Linked DNA regions of Homo sapiens: region 1 is linked to region 2. The links are contacts of gene promoters, found by promoter capture Hi-C in blood cells and fetal thymus (Javierre and others, 2016). All regions are on one chromosome and are shown on one strand. The core of a region is centred on a gene start or on the middle of the fragment in contact, and the rest is flanking DNA. Distances in the headings are between cores, read along the strand shown.

The links. The method cuts DNA at HindIII sites, captures the fragments that hold promoters and counts their contacts. A CHiCAGO score of 5 or more calls a contact.
Region 1: the fragment with the promoter of SRP72 here is called in contact with the fragment with the promoter of TMEM165 in region 2 in 1 of 17 cell types (activated CD4 T cells); the score reaches 5.2 in activated CD4 T cells.

The regions. Positions count from the first base shown.
Region 1 is chr4:56,465,138-56,470,157 of GRCh38, reverse strand. SRP72 (signal recognition particle 72) reads right to left here and starts at 2,541. Exons shown (of 19, transcript NM_006947.4): 1 at 2,414-2,541; 2 at 385-505. The coding sequence starts at 2,522. It overlaps LOC124900706 (a long non-coding RNA gene), which reads left to right and starts at 2,600. Exons shown (of 2, transcript XR_007058126.1): 1 at 2,600-3,066. RefSeq lists an enhancer at 2,487-2,696. The HindIII fragment of the contact is 5,513 bases long and covers 919-5,020 here.
Region 2 is chr4:55,394,376-55,399,370 of GRCh38, reverse strand. It overlaps TMEM165 (transmembrane protein 165), which reads right to left and starts at 3,414. Exons shown (of 6, transcript NM_018475.5): 1 at 2,975-3,414. The coding sequence starts at 3,181. RefSeq lists an enhancer at 1,189-1,238 and silencers at 2,739-3,208, 3,409-3,608. The HindIII fragment of the contact is 4,477 bases long and covers 400-4,876 here.

The DNA of each region.
Region 1 (5,020 bases), core at 1,292-3,791, 1.1 Mb before region 2:
TTAATATGCTTCAAACTTAATTTCAATACATATTTTTTTGGAGCCTAGGTATAACAGTAAAGAAACTTCGACTGAGTTATTCTTGCTACATCCTCCAACGACTCATAATTATGCCCCACAACTCTCTATGGTTCACCTCCTTAGCGGTTCAAAGGAAACACAGTGGTTAAAAAAAAAAAAAAAAACTCTCTAAGGCTGAAAAAAACAGAAGTTACTAGTATTCCTTCCAGTTCAGAAACATTATTGACAAGCAAAAGGGGGGAAAAAAAGGAAGGAAAAAAACGTTAAAAAAAATCAGCAAATAGTTGGGAAAAAACATGGAAGAGATTATAGCTATAGTAAGTGTTTCTAATAACTGTACAAGCAACTAACTGAATCACTTACTTGGCTAACACTTTGGTGTGAGTATTGATGACATTCAAAGCTTCCTTGAAACTTCCATTCTGGATAAGGCATACCACTTTACAATGCAGGGCAGTTACGTCATCTTTGTTGATCTGTAGTACTAGAGAACAATTTTAGGAAAAGTCATTTTTAAATCCATTTCCTTTTCACATTTTTACTAAATTTTCCCACCCTGTCTCTCCGAAAGCTAAATTTCTACTTTTATTGCAACAGAAATAATTGGTCAGAACAACTGGAAGAAACAGCAACAAAACAAAACAAACCCAGAAAACAACTAATCTTTGCTTTTAACTTAAGAAGTGACAATAAGGAGAGTTATAGATTAAATTTTCAATGAGATAAAGATTCCCAATATACATGTACCAAAAAAGTGCAGTGAAATAAAGAAGAAAGAAGCAATTTCTCCAGATATTTCATCTTGAAATGCATGCTACATTCTACATAGTTCATTACTTCACAGGGAAAAAGTTCAGGTAGAATTTGGAAGCAAATGACCTAGGTTTGGTGCAAGCTTGCCACTAAATGCTTTGAGGTATTGGGCATATCACTTAACAGCCAAATCTCAGTTTTCTTAGCTACAAAATGATTAGAAAAGCATTACCTATTTAATAAGGTTACTGACAATATGAAATGAATATTTTGGAAAAATCTTATAAAGTATAATACAAAGGCAATTTATCTTGCTGGCAACGTTTCCAAAAATCATTAAAATTTCCCCTTTTCAACTAAGATGACCAAAGTATAAGGAAGAACTCAGGTGGCAAGTTTCAACGCTAACAACTGTTCGGTGTTAAAATGACCAGGATCATAGTTACTCTTGCTCCTGTGCAACTACAGAAGTCCAATTCTCAAAGAATCACAAGAATTTCTACCAATTAAGAAAACATACTGGTAAACAAGTTGACAATCTTTGCTGATTAAAGAATTCCTGCAAAATACTATACTAAGTATACAGTACTGGTTGGAAGGCTAGAGTTAATTCAAACAAATTTAGGGATCAAATAATTCTAATTCGTAGCTATTTTCCTCAATGTCTGAAATCACCAAAAGTGCACTGTGGGCACAATCACTACTTTTCACGTTAACCCAGTACTAGAGTGTTGAAAATTACTTAGATAGCTTTGCATGTTACTGACACACCTTTTAGGTTACTGCTACTCTGAACAGCTAAGCCCTGCCTTGGTAATTACATTTCCAAATCTAACATGCACAGGCTGTATCTTCAGTAGAGAAGAACTGCGCACCACCGAGAACATTAAGCAGCATGGCCATATTCCAGGTATGTAGTAAGGAACAAAAGAATATGATGAATTAAACCTCACACCAAAGGCGGTAAAAACCGAAATCATCCCTTACAGGGCAAAAAAACAGGCCAAACTTTTCTTCCGACATTATTTCAAGTGTTGGTGCTTCCACACACATATTTCCTAACTTAATAACACTGAAGAGATCTCATCTATGGGAATGACAGGCCTGACATCCAGATCCAGCCCTTTCCTCTCGCCCCGTAGAACCCGTACAGCTTCCACCTGGTTAGCACCAGCCTCTAAACTACGTGTCCCAAGCAGGTTCCTCCCCCTTTAGCGGCCAAAGAGAACAAGCTCCCTCAGCAATAGAGTCCTGATCACTGCGCTCAAGACGAAGAAGAAAAGGAGGCACTTTGGAATATTTGTGAAATAAAGCAGCAAAGGAGTCAAATAAGAAAACAGTTTGAAATGGACTCCGGGAGCTGCGGTCTCTTTAAAACCTTCCCTCGCTTCCCGCGGAGGGTAAAAAGAGAAGTACACGTGGCTGTAAGCAACCAGGGACCCCAGGCTGGCCTGGTGAAGCCGAGGAGTGAGACCTGCGTCTTCCGGGCGCTAGGGCCCGAGCCGGGCGGACAATAGACGGGGGGGTTTCGGGGGTCTCCCCTTCCCGTGCCTCCCGCGCGAGGTGGTCTCGCGCGCCGGAAACAGGCCGCATCCTCCAGCCGGCCTGGGCCCGCCCCAGTGCCCACCCCGACACTTACTCTTATTGACGGTCTTGAGAGCGCGCGTGAAGTCGCCGTTCTGGCCATACCGGTTCACTTCACTCCACAGCGCAGGTACTGACACCCCCCCGCTGCCGCCGCTCGCCATCTTGGAGGAGACGAGGGGCGGGGCGGGGAGACCTCTGCCCCGGAACAGGATCTCCGAGGCAGCCAAGAGGAGGAGGAAGTCGATGATTGCTAAGCGTCGCCGAGTTGGGAGTGTCTTCAGCCCTAAGGCAGCATCAGAGATCATAATCTTCTGCTCTCGTGGCAAGAAATTTGTGCGGATAGAGTTGATACACCTCACTTGAAGTTGGCCTGGAGAAAAGAGGCGTCGGACTCCTGGACGGGGTTGGGAAACGGTCACCAGTTTCGGCTCAAAGCAGCCTGTTTCCAGGAGACCGCCATGGTCGAGGCAGCGTCCTGGTCCCACGGTGCGGGGCCGGACGATCATTTATGGGATATAAATAAAAGGACTATGAGGTGGTAAATAAAAGACTACCAACTAGAAGCCATAGGGAGTCATTTGAAGGAGAAATAGGCACGGCTCATCTGTGGTTGAGGGAAAGGGATCTTGAAAGATGATTAGGAGAACTTGGGTTCTGGGGAAAGTGCGGGAAGACATTCTGGCAGAGAAGCAAACGTGAGGAAAGGTAAGAAGGCAAGAATCTCCCATTACAAAGGGTTTGGTGAAACCCTTTGCCTGTCCTTTTCGCTCCCTTCGGGAGCAGTCGGCAATAAGCTGGAAGGGTAATGGGGTGAAAATGCCCGTGGTCAGTTCCCTGGCTCTGCGACTCACTAGATGTCTGACAATAAACAAGTTACTTAGCTTCTGGGAGTCTGTTTTCCCGATTGTGAAATGGGGATACTATATTTGTTCTAGAGATATAAAATATTAGGGTTTGCTTGCGACCGTTAATATCAAGATGTGTTCAGATGTACGAAGGGAATGGATATCTGTTGGGTACACTTGATGTGAGTGATTTTTTTTTTTTTTTGAGACGGGGATCTTGCCGTGTTGCCCAAGCTGGTCTGGAACTCCTGGGCTCAAGCAATCCTCCCACCACAGCCTCCCCAAGTGCTGGGATTACAGGCATGAGCCACCACACCAAGACGATGTGAGTGATTCACTTGATGTGAATGTTGTATTTCATTGAATGGCCTGCTCTTCAGACTCATATCTCGTCATGACCTTTACAACTTCTACTACTTCCTGTGTCCCTCAGGAACCTAGCTTTTTTTTTTTTTTTTTTTTTTTTTTTTTGAGACGTAGTCTAGCTCTGTGACCCAGGATGAACCTCACTGCAATCTCCACCTCCTGGGTTAAAGCGATTCTTTTGCCTCAGCCTCCCAAGTAGCATGAGCCACCACGCCCGGTTAATTTTTGAATTTTTAGTAGAGATGGGGTTTCACTGTGTTGGCCAAGCTGGTCTCAAACTCCTGACCTCAAGTGATCCGCCCTCTCTCAGCCTCCCAAAGTACAGGGATTACAGGCGTAAGCCACCGTGCCCGGCCTTGCTAACTACTTTTTGTCTTTCAGTCTTTCTGGTTATACGTTGAAAGTTACTTTGAGGAAACATTTGATCTTGCAGACTGGGCAGCCTTCTGGTTGCATCCTCTTAGAACAGGGGTCCCCAACCCTTGTACTGGTCTGCAGCCTGTTAGGAACCGGGCGGCACAGCAGTAGGTGATCGGTGGGCCAGTGAGCAGTACCGCCTGAGCTCCTGTCAGATCAGCTGTGATATTAGCTTCTCACAGCTCAAACCCTATTGTGAACTGGGAATGTGAAGGATCTAGGTTGCTCACTCCTTAAGAGAATCTAATGGGAAATGTAATGAGCTTGAATCATACTGAAACCAGCTGTCCAACTCCTGTGGAAAGATTGTCTTCCCTGAAACCGGTCCCTGGTGCCAAAAAGGTTGGGAGACTCCCTATAGGACTCCACTTCTGAGCACTGATAATTAAGGGTTATCTCACTCTGTATGGACTATAGTTCTGAGGCCAAGGAACCATATTTACCTTGCTCACTGCAGTATCCCTAGGATCTAGCATACTGCCTGGCACATAGTTGGCATTTTTTGTTTCACATTCCTTGCCTAATCTTGAGTTCCTTGAGGGCAGAAACTGCCCAGCTCCTGATATGGCATATGGTGCCCTGCCATATTTTTGTCTGGTCCTTCCAGTATATACAATGCAAAGAGCATGAAAGGTGGCTTGAACTCTAGGTGCTGGAGGGTGTAATTCTTGTGAATTAGTAAAAATCATGAGAAGAGCTTTAGACTTTTACTGACTAGAATTGTCACAGGTTTCAAGCCAGTTATGTTTAGATTTCAGGGGGTGGGGGCTCCAGATGACATGGTATACCCAAAATGTTGTGTGAGAAAATTGGGTATACCCAAAATTTTGTTGTATTTTGTTATTCTGAGAAAATGTAGATTCCACTGTATTCTCCAAAGGTGTTTATATCCACCATCCCCTCCCAAAAGTTAAGAGCCACTGTCCTAGTAGTACTTTTTAGAACATTGACTTTATATAAGAATTGGCAATTTTCGTTTCTATATCATTCTAATCCTATATACTTTGTAGCTTTTAGAAATGCTCAGAATT
Region 2 (4,995 bases), core at 2,165-4,664:
AGGGTCAGCTGAGCCAGGAGCGACAAGCAGGGCAGTGTAAATGGGAACCCCACTCCTAAGCATATGGCTGGGGGTAGCAGGGCAGGCAGAAGGAAAAAGATGGAGAAGCCCACTCACCTCTTTGCTCTCCCCAAGTGGACTAAAGACCCTGGCTTCACATGTTAAATGATTCACACTTCTTGTACACCTCTGACATCACTGCATTATATCTCTCTGTTACCATGGGTTATTTACTCGTTGAGTTCCAGTGCTTTTGATCTTCTCTTTTTCTCTTTTTAAAAAAAACTTTATAAGAGTCCCGGAATTAACTATATAGTCAGCTGAAAATAAACTGTCTAAACCAACACCAATCCAATAATGGTTACAAAATCACATTATATCCAGCAGATGATAAAAGCTTAGTTCTCTTAATTCCATCTGGTGGATCCCTTGCAACTTAAAAAAAAAAGGTTGGATAGACACTATTAAAAATCGGGTTGTTGTTTTTTTTTTTTTTTCCTGGTTGAGTTTATTTTACAGCCAGTTTTTCCAGAAAGGTATTTAACAGCTGATATAAACTTGACATGCAACTACTTCAACCCAGTCTTAGAAAATTAGTTAATAAATGCCAAGAACAGACAAGGTCTTCTGGAATAGACAGATGAGTAAGCCAGAGTCATGCTCTCAAGACACCTAAAAGCTAGTAGGGGCAGATAAAACACGCACACAACTTGCAAGAACCCAAGGCAGCAAGATGTGTGTGTAAACATGCCACAACATACACAATAAAGTTCCCAAAAAAGGAGAAAGAGAAAGCTAGGCTCAAGATCAAAGAACTGCACCAGCATACAATCCAATAAACCATTAAAATCCATTAGTGAATTAAATAAGTCAAAAGAGTAAGACACAATGAATGCTAATAAAACTTAGTAAGGCACAGAAGTCCAGATTCTAATTCTGGTTCTGCTGAAACTAGCTTCTAGCTCTGTGATATTAAACCACTATTCCTTACAAACCTCCTCTACCTGTTTAACGTGCTGTTGTGAGGATTAAATCGGCTCCCAGAATCTTCACTTCCCAGTAACTTTATCTCCCAGATTCCCTCCCATATCAGAATCTCCTCATAGGCAGTTAGTTATTCAACTTCTTCCTGAGTACTTCCAGTAAGGGGAACTTCATTATTTCTCAATAGCGATTACTACATCTGGGACAGCACTGATTCTTACAAATGTTCTTGCTTAGTGAAACCAAGATCAGTCTCTCAGAAAGTTCTATCCTACGGTCTTACACAGAAAAACAACAGAAAATTGGAAAAGCCTAAGAAAGTAACATGTAACGAAAACATGAAACACGAAAACAATGCACCGGTGTGAGAGCTCACCAGCACTTGGGAGGCCAAGGCCGGAGAAGCGCTTGAGCCCAGGAGTTTGAGACTAGACTCGGCAACATAGTGAGACCTCCTCTCTCAAAAAAAAAAAAAATAAACAAAAATTAGCCGGGCGTGTCAGCACACGCATGCAGTCCCAGCCACTCAGGAGGCTGAGGTGGGAGGATCAATTAGAGGTTGCAGTGAGCCAAGACGGGGCCACTGCACTCCAGCCTGGGCGACAGAGCGAGACCCTGTCTCAACAAAGAAAAAGGAAAAAGGAAAGGAAGGGAGAAAGGAAAGGAAAAAGGAAAGGAAAGGAGAAATGAAAGGAATGGAAAGGAAAAAGGAGAAAGGAGAGGAAAGGAAAAAGGAGAAAGGAGAGGAAAGGAAAGGAAAGGAAAGGGTCAGATAAATCACCCTTAACCAAGAAATTTTAGGGAAGTCTTCACAGAGAGTAGGTATCTGCTGGTTCTCCAAGGTGGGAAGAGTTGATCCGTGGCTTCAAACTCCAGGTCTTTTTTTTTTTTTCTTTGAAAAGGTCTTGTGTTAGGGAGGAACTGGCAAGAGAGCACAAAGCCTGTCCCAAAGGGCTCTTGAAGCACATTCTTTTTTGCAGATGAGCATATCCCTTTAGCATATGAGCAAGAAAGCGGTGGCTAAAAAGCCTGGAGGTGAGCTGGAGCCAGATCAGAAGAAACCTGAACATCACTCTCCTAAAAAGGCTGGACTGAAATTAGTGGAGGCAACTCACCGACGACTTCTGACAAGATGGCAGAATTCAATGTTCGGGAAGATTAGTTACGTGGAGATGGGCTGGATGTGGCCTGGGTGGGAGTGGGGGTTTGAGTGCCACACTGGCCGGGATTCAGGGAGCAGATACTGGAAATGACGACAAAGCCCACGACTGGGAGAAGGGAGAAATGTTAAAACGCTGCCAAGTGACTAAGGACTAATTCTATTAACAGATTAAAAAGTTGATTTCTAGTATCTATTCAGGGAAGGACAAAATACAGGATTCTGTTTTACTTATAAATGTAGTTTTGGCATCCCACATCGCTGCAGCACGCTGTACTGCCGGAGACTAATTCCTCTGCGTTCCTAAAGGCTACTTCCTGCTAGCCAAAGCACATTTTTAAAAAGTGAGAGTCATGGTTCATAATCCATATTTGGCAAAAAGCACAGGCAGTGCCAAGTTGAATTTGGGTAAGCAGTTTGGCATAAGCTATTTCAACAATGAAATGGCCGATGTGATGATCCTCAGGGAATACAAAAAGCCTCCTAGCAGCCTTCTGTTAAAAACTTTTTGGTAGGGATGAGTCTTTCTAGCTACTCTAAGACACATCTGATCAATAAAACGCCCATCCCGGAGCAGCATCTTGGCCCTCCGGAGATCAACGTTTATAGCGGGCTCCTCTTGGACTCTCCCTCTCCCTTTCCCTAAAGGAGCGGGCAAGACCAGGCCTCACCGGAAAACAGCGCAGCCGACCGCCCTCCACCCCGGGAGCAGGGGCCGGGCTCCCCTCCCCCAGCCGAGGCCGGCGGAGTGCGGCGCTTTCAAAGGCCTGGAGCCTGGTACTCGGCGCAGCCGGCCCTGCAGCCTCGCTCGCCCCATCCCGGCCCGCTCACCTCGACCCGGGCCGGCTCGGGGCCCTGCACAGCCACAGGCTGCGGCTGCAGCTGCTGGGCCGGCGCCGGCGGTTCTTTGTTCCGGTGGCTAAGGTCTTCATCTGGGCCGGCCCGGACCGCAGCCGGGGCCCACAGCAGCGGAACCAGAAAGAGCAGAAGCAGCCGGGGCGCCGATGCGCGGCCGTTCCCTGGAGCCGCGGCCGCCATCCCGCCTGCCGGGCCGGCCGCGCACGGGCGCCGCAAGAGGAAGTGCCGGCGACGGGAAGCCTCGACCCCGAACAGCCTCCGCGGCGCGTCCTCACGACTCGCCGCCGCCGCCGCTTAGGGAGCAGTCAGCACCATCCGGGAGGTGCAAGCAGCGGGAGTGAGGTGAGGGGCAGGCCGAAGTCCGCAGCCCCGGCTCGGCGCCCGTCCTCTCCGGCGGCGGCTAAACTGGAGTCAGCCAGCTGCCTCGGCGCGGCCCAGCCCCGACTCCTCCCGGCCCCGTCCCTGCCCGCGACGGCCTCCCATTGGCCCGGCGACCGCCTTGGCGTCGTGACGTCCTCTGCCAGGTTGAGGTGCGGCGCGGGCCCTCCTCCCATTGGATCCGGCGCTCCCGGCAGGTACCCGGCGCCGCGTGTCCTTCCTCTGCTCGCATCCTCACCGCGCCGCGCCCGGGGCTCCCTTTCTCTCTCTGTGCCCCACCGTCCCAGGACTGCGAGGTCCTTCACTTCTGCTTCCTCCAGAGCCTTCCGCCGTAATGTCCGCACCCGCTGTTCCCTGCGCTTAGTCTCTCTTAGAGGTCAAATTAGTGCGAGCGCCTCTGGTTACGTGGCGCTGACTCGCAGGCACTGCCACGCCCAGCTCTGTTCCGCTCTCCCCCGCCGAGCCTCTGTGCCACCCTCCATGTGGCCACCTACCGCCAAAAACGTTCTTAGGAGCTCAAAATGCTATTTTTTTTTTAAAGTTCTGAAATGGGATTTGGAAATAACATGACATTTTTCAAGCCTTGTTTTAAGATACTGCCTATAATTACCCCAGACCAAAAATGGCTAACGTTGCCCTTGTCCAGTATGGCCTTGACGTTTTGGGTGCATCTTGTTTTGTGCTATTCCTTAGACCCTTTAAAAATGCTGGGCTTTTGAAATGGACTGTTTAAGACTTTTGCAGGATGGAGCTTTGAGTGGGCAAGACTAGAAGACAGGAAAGGATGGTCTTGAGTTAGGCTTGAGAATATTTTTACGTCTTCCCAAAAGAAAAAGTGAGCTACTTAATTACCATAAGTTTGAGACCTAGTCCCTAATAAAAATCGATAGTGCTAACCATGTGCCAGGCACTAATCTAATATTATACATATTTACATACAGTAAACCTGTACTCAGTAAAGAGCTAAGGAAGTTTATCACTAACTGAAACAAAAAATTAATCCACCAAAACAATCTGTGGGAAAGTGGGCAAACCTACTTTGAGTTCACCAAAGATACAGTGTTTGTCACAGGATAATAAAATTTCCGTCTGTTTTTTTGTTTTGTTGTTTTCTTTGTTTTTGTTTTTGAGACGGAGTTTCGCGCTTGTTGCTCAGGATGGAGTGCAATGGTGAGATCTCGGCCCACTGCAACCTCCTCCTCCCGGGTACAAGAGATTCTCCTGCCTCAGCTTCCCGAGTAGCTGGGATTACAGGCATGCTCCACCATACGCGGCTAACTTTGTAATTTTAGTAGAGATGGGGTTTCTCCATGTTGGTCAGGCTGGTCTCGAACTCCAGACCTCAGGTGATCTGCCGGCCTCGTCCTCTCAAAGTGCTGGGATTACAGGTGTGAGCCACCGCGGCCGGCCTCCGTCCATGTTATTCTGTCCGTAATTCCCCTTCTTCCATTCTCTCCTTGTAAACTCCTACTCATACTTCCAAAACCTATTCAAGCTTCCACTCTCAGAACTTTTCCCCAACACATGGCGTTACAGAATTTGTCACTTGTTCCTTCATGTTATTGCTTTATGCATTCTTCTATTACTGTGTAAGTAGGATGCCTCCACTTACAGTT